Regions from separate parts of the Homo sapiens genome. Here region 2 is linked to region 1. Evidence: promoter capture Hi-C in 16 types of primary human blood cells and fetal thymus (Javierre and others, 2016). All regions are on one chromosome and are shown on one strand. The core of a region is centred on a gene start or on the middle of the fragment in contact, and the rest is flanking DNA. Distances in the headings are between cores, read along the strand shown.

Region 1 (2,777 bases), core at 278-2,777:
ACCATCCCTTGAGCACTTCACAGTGCCTGGTACACTGCAAGTCTCCAGTAAATGTCTGACACAATGAATGAAATAAATATGGATAAGTTTTTTCATGCCTCGATATGTGAGAAAGGAACCAGTATGTTTCACAGGGAATCAGGATTGGTGACATGAGTGACTGTGACACTTGCCAACCCTTATTGCACTCCGCCCTGTTTGGTTTGGCCTTTTCTACCCCCACCTCACAGTTGTTTCCAACGTGCGGTGTCTGTTGGGCAGTGGCTTGGATACATTGAATCAGATATTTGAAATGCACTAGTCCATTTTATACATGCAAGTGCATTAAGGTTGCCCAGTAGGAAAACTGATAAGACAACAGATAAACTGCTACACGGACTTCTTCCCAGACAACGACAATAATTACACAACAGCTAATGAGGGAGTTTAAAAACAAAAACAACAACAACAACAACAACAAAACCTGACTAGAAGAATGTCTAGTCTTGAAGACAGGAGGCTTTTTTTCTTTTAGAAAAATCAGTCTGAGGTATTTATTTCACCCCGACTGTAACGACTCCGGGAACTCTTAGGCTGCCTATAAGTCTCTCCCACAGTAAAGAGTACACAAACGACACAACAACGACCAGAGGGGCCCCAAACTGAGGGCAAAAAGTTTTAGAGATTCGTTCACAGAAAAGCAACCTCTTGCTTTATACTATTTTTTTTTTTTTGATACGGAGTCTCGCTCTGTCACCCAAGCTGGAGTGCAATGGTGCAATCTCGGCTCACTGCAACCTCCGCCTCCCGGGTTCAAGCAATTCTCTTGCCTCAGCCTCCTGAGTAGCTGGGATTACAGGCGCGTGCCACCATGCCCGGCTAATTTTTGTATTTTTAGTAGAGACGGGGTTTCACCATGTTGGCCAGGCTGATCTCGAACTCCTGACCTCAGGTGATCCGTCCGCCTAGGCCTCGAAAAGTGTTGGGATTACAGGCGTGAGCCACCACGCCCGGCTGCTTTACATACTATTTTATTGAATTATAATGGACCTGCTACATGGAGGGCATGCAATAATTGCTTTTAGCGTAAATTAATCAAATGGACTAGGGAAATTTGACTACATCTAGAGAAGGTTTTCAACCATGGTGAGATCAGGAGGCTTCCAGAAATTTTCATGTCAAGACCATTAAAATGCAAGAGCGATGAAACTTTACAAAGAAACCGACACTTGAGCCCCACTTTGGAGACCCACTTAAAATTTTTATGGTGGGGAGGGGGGTGAAACTCCTAGGAAGAGTTTGCTGAGTTGCTTCAACAGATGTCACCAGCCTTCTGAGGGGGTGGGCGCGGGGGCGGCAGTGGAGCTGGAGATTGGCATTTGCCTCCTCAGGACACTTTCCGGCTAATTTCTTCTAGGTGCCTCAATGAATAAACCAGAAATAGAAAAGCGGGGACCAGGCGCGGTGGCTCACTCCTGTAATCCCAGAACTTTAGGAGGCCGAGGCGGGAGGATCATTGAGCCCAGGAGTTCCAGGTTGCAGTGAGCCGCGATCGTGCCACCGCAGCGAGACCCTGTCTCCAAAAAAAGAGACAGAAAAAGGGGAGGGTTAAGGAATCATTTCAGACTCGAAGAGAATATGGCCTCTCAAATTAAAATGGGCAGTTTCCGCCGAACTTTCAAAGCCGCTTGGTTTGGAGAGGGAGCAGGACGGCCGTGCTTCCCAAGGGTCTCCCGGCGTCGCGGCCCAGCCCGGCGTTACCTGCAGTTCGGCCCGCAGCCGCTTGTTCTCCGTGTCCAGCTTGGCCTCGCGGCGGCCCATGGACAACAACTCCTGGTTCTTGCTGACGCGAAAGATCTCGTACTCCTTCCTGAGCCGCTCGTACTCGGCCGCCGCGTACTCCAGCTCTGGCACCGACGAGCCAGTGGACTTGAAGCTGGCCCCCAGCAGCCCGCCCGCGCCCACCCCGCGGGGCAGCGACCCGGGCCCGGCCCCTGCTGCCGCCCCCGCGCCTCGGCGGAACGAGTTGCGCAGCAGGCGGGCCTTGGGCTTCACCTCCACCGGGATCTCGCAGGCCTCGCCGCCGCCCGCCCCGTACGTGTCCTCGATCACTTCCCCGCCCGCGGGGCTCACGAGCGACGAGGCGGTCCCCATGGCGTCCGTTGCCGCTACTACCTAGTGAGTACCAGCAGGACTGGGCAGCGGAACGGAACGGGACGGGGTGGGGCAGAGGAACGGAACGGGACGGGGCGGGGCAGAGGAACGGAACGGGACGGGGCGGGCCAGCGGGATGGAGCGGGGCCGGAGAGCAGGACTGGGCGGAGCAGCGGGACGGGGCGGAGCAGCGGAACGGGGCGAGGCGGGGGAGCGGGATGGGGCGGGGAAACAGGAGGGGCGGGGCAGCAGAACTGGGCGGGGCGGGGGTGCAGGACGGGGCGGGGGAGCAGGACGGGGCGGGGCAGCGGAACGGGGCGGGGCGGGGCCGGAGAGCCGGACGAGGCGAGGCAGCGGAACGGGGCGGGGAGGGAGAGCGGAAGGGGGTGGGGCAACTGGAGGGGCGGGGCAGCGGAACGGGACGGGGCAGCGGAACTGGGGGGATGGGCGAGGGGGACGGGGCGGGGCAGCAGGGCTAGGCGGGACAACAAGAGGGGCCGGGCAAGTGGGGCGGGGCATGTGGGCGGGGCAGGGCAAACGGGGGTGGGTCGAGAAAGCACACAGGGCCAGGCGGGCTAGCAAGAAGGGCGGGGCTAGCAGGAAGGATGGGGGGAGTGGCGACTGTGCAGGACCAGCAGTGGACC
Region 2 (3,261 bases), core at 283-2,782, 6.6 Mb after region 1:
TTTGGGCAGGAAGTGGAATACATAAATTATGTATTTATTTGAGACAAGAGTCTCACTCTGTCACCCAGGCTAGAGTGTTTGTTTGTTTGTTTATTTGAGATGGAGTCTTGCTTTGTTGCTCAGGCTGGAGTGCAATGGCACGATCTTGGCTCAATGCAACCTTTGCCTCCTCGGTTCAAGCGATTCTCCTGGTACAGGCGCCCGCCACCATGCTTGGCTAATTTTTATATTTTTAGTAGAGACGGGGGTTTCACCATGTTGGCCAGGCTAATCTCGAACTCCTGACCTCAGGTGATCCGCCCGCCTTGGCCTCCCAGACTGCTGGGATTACAGGCGTGAGCCACGGCGCCTGGCCGGAAATTTGTTATTTAGAACGATGGAAACGGGTAGGAAAAAGAGCATATAGGGAAAAAGGTGTAAGTTTTAACTTTATGCATAGGGAAGGACATAAACACCGTCTACTTGTGAATAAGTAGTTTAGAAGAAACAATCTATAAGGGCCCGGAAGACTTCCGGCCCTTTCCGCCTTTAACTAGACTACATTTCCCAGAGTGCTGCAAGAACTGGGTGTGACTCGGAATCCCTCCCAACCACTTCCGGCGCAAGTGGCTTCTGATAATCATGGCGCCCCTCGGAACAACTGTATTGCTGTGGAGCCTCTTGAGGAGTTCTCCGGGCGTGGAACGGGTCTGTTTCCGGGCTCGAATCCAGCCCTGGCACGGTGGCCTGCTCCAACCGCTACCTTGCTCTTTCGAGATGGGGCTGCCACGCCGCCGGTTCAGCTCCGAGGCCGGTAAGTGACCTTCCGGACTTTCGCTGGGGCGTTCTTCTGGGAGACGTAGATCCTGTTTCTGGCAGGCGAAAACCACGCGATAGCCCCCGCGACACGTATCCTAGCGCTTCCTCAGATTCAGCTGTCTTCCTTCTGTACCTGTAGAGTTTGTCATCACCTGCATATCTGTTCATTCGTTCACTCACTCAACTACAGTGCCTGAGTTCCGCTCCGTGCAGAGCACTGTGCTAAGCTCTGTGGGATATGGCAAACTAAGACTGACACAGACATTTCCCTGTGGGAACTCATGTCCATGGGGAATTGGCAGTGCAGTGTGACCCGGGTTGTTATAGGGGACGCACACAGGAGAGGCACTCAAACTAGGTTGGAAGGTCAGGGAAGGGTTCCTGGCAAATATGACCAAAGCTGAGATCTGGTTAGCCATGCTAAGGAGAAAGCAAGAAGCTTCTCAAGCATAGGGGACAGTAGCAGATGTCCAGAAATGAGACTGAGCACAGATATTTGGGAACCCATTTTGGAGGTAGGATTGATAAGGCTTGATTAAGGCTTTGGATATGAGTTTAAAGGGACAAATTAAGATTGTTTCTTAAGTTTTTGATTGGAATAGAGGGTTGTCCCATTTACACCAAGATGAAGAAGATTAATTAATTGTTGGAACCGTTATTTTGGGGGCGGGGGTAGTGCAGGAGTAGATGAGATCAGGAGATGGGAAAGGAGGCGGAATTAAACCTATTTGGGACACATTAAATTTGAGGTGACTTTAAGAGTCAACTGTTTAGTATGGAGTTAAATATAAAGTGAGGAACATCGGAGTAAAAATGGTAACTAAAGGTGAGTGAATGGGTGAGACTGAGGAGAGAGTAGTGCTGAGCACTTGCTGTGTGCTGGATACCCTGAGGAACCCTGGGTGCCAGAGATGAGTATAAGACAAGGTCTGGTCTTCATAGAGCACATCACTTAGTGAGAGACATAGTGTAGGTAAGCAGACCACCTTAACTTTTTTTCTAAATGAGGTTGGAAGCCATTCGTGAATTTTAAGCTTGGGAGTAATCTTGATTACATTTTAAAGAGATTACTCTGGTTGCTCTGTGGAGAATGATCTGTAGTGGGGCCAGAATGGAGAAAGGGAGGCTGATGCAAGAGATGAGGATAGCCTTGACTAGAGTAGTGGCAGTGGGAAATGGAGGATTAAAATGAGATTTATGAAGGCAAACAATCAGTATGTTCTCTGCCAGTGGTGTTTTTTTTTTTGTTTTTTTTTTTTTTTTGTAAAATTGGGATAATCTTCGTGTTTACCTCATGGGTTGTTGTGAGTATTAAATGGGCTGAATGTGTAAAGTACTTAGCTCAGTCAGTATTGGCATGTAGTAAATAGCTAATAAATGGTAGCTCTTATAATTACTGTTATTATTACTACAGCTATTTGATTACTGTTGTTGTTATTACTACTGCTATTGGCTAGATCTGGAGGATCAGGGAGAATTTAGGAATGGCTGTAAGATTTCTGGCCTGTATGGCCTACTGGATGATGCTGAGATAGGGAACAGAAAATGCAGGTTTGAGACAAGGGAAAGTTGATGGGTTCTGACTTGGCAGTATTCAAGTACATGAGAGAGGTTGAGTAATTGGATGGAAGGTGATCTTGGCAGGAGATTCAGATTTTAGAGTTTCTGGCATATAAAGGTAATTGAAGTCGTGGCAGGATAGGAGAAATCATCGAGTAAGAATCTGAGAAGGGAGAAAAGGACATCGTTCAGAATCTGTAGGGATACCAACATTTATAGGAGAAGAAGAGGTGACTAGGAACAAATGGCTTTTTCTTTCTTTTTTGCTAATGGAAATGGAAGTAGAAGTTAGGCAAAGCAATAAGCAAACTGCATGAGGCTGAGCTAAGATTTGATTCTCTGCTTATGTCAAAGGCTCTTCCATGATAACACACGGCCTCTTCAGTATCATGTCCAGTGAACCAAGCCTCTTTCCTAGCTGCAATCTCTTAGCCTAGACTTTCCCTCCCTTTTTTCTCTGCCGTGATGAGGCTCTTGGGACGCTTTCTTTGACCCTGTCATGCCCATCCCTAGTCCAGGCTATGCTTAGTTTCTTCCTCTGCAATCACCCAAGCCCCGTACCTCTCCTGTATACCATACCTCTCACATTATGTCTCCCCACACCTCCCACTTATACCGAGGAGCGCTATGATAAATTGGAAACCATCTAGGATCCAGAACCAGACAAACCTTGGTTTAAATTTTGACTCTATCACTTAATAGCTAGTTGTCTTTGGATAGGCTTCAGCATCCTCATTTATAAAATTGGGTTTATCAGTACCTATTTTGTGAGTGGTTATAAGCATTCCTGAAAATGTGTGTTATACCTGCCATATAGGAGACAGCTCTGTAAGTGGCAGCAACCATTACAGTTATTACATTAATTACTTTATTACTGTTACTTCCTCTAGTAGTCTGTCCTTT

What was found. The method cuts DNA at HindIII sites, captures the fragments that hold promoters and counts their contacts. A CHiCAGO score of 5 or more calls a contact.
Region 2: a contact is called between a fragment that was not itself captured here and the fragment with the promoter of NPHP3-AS1 in region 1, in 1 of 17 cell types (total CD4 T cells). The highest score is 5.4, in total CD4 T cells.

What each region holds. Positions count from the first base shown.
Region 1 is chr3:132,720,223-132,722,999 of GRCh38, forward strand. NPHP3-AS1 (NPHP3 antisense RNA 1) reads left to right here and starts at 1,528. Exons shown (of 11, transcript NR_002811.2): 1 at 1,528-2,157. It overlaps NPHP3 (nephrocystin 3), which reads right to left and starts at 2,187. Exons shown (of 27, transcript NM_153240.5): 1 at 1,741-2,187. The coding sequence starts at 2,133. It overlaps NPHP3-ACAD11 (NPHP3-ACAD11 readthrough (NMD candidate)), which reads right to left and starts at 2,237. Exons shown (of 45, transcript NR_037804.1): 1 at 1,741-2,237. RefSeq lists silencers at 1,844-2,093, 2,194-2,703. The HindIII fragment of the contact is 4,122 bases long and covers 1-2,777 here.
Region 2 is chr3:139,343,406-139,346,666 of GRCh38, forward strand. MRPS22 (mitochondrial ribosomal protein S22) reads left to right here and starts at 615. Exons shown (of 8, transcript NM_020191.4): 1 at 615-793. The coding sequence starts at 622. RefSeq lists enhancers at 673-762, 722-1,016, 993-1,092, 1,103-1,222. The HindIII fragment of the contact is 595 bases long and covers 1,236-1,830 here.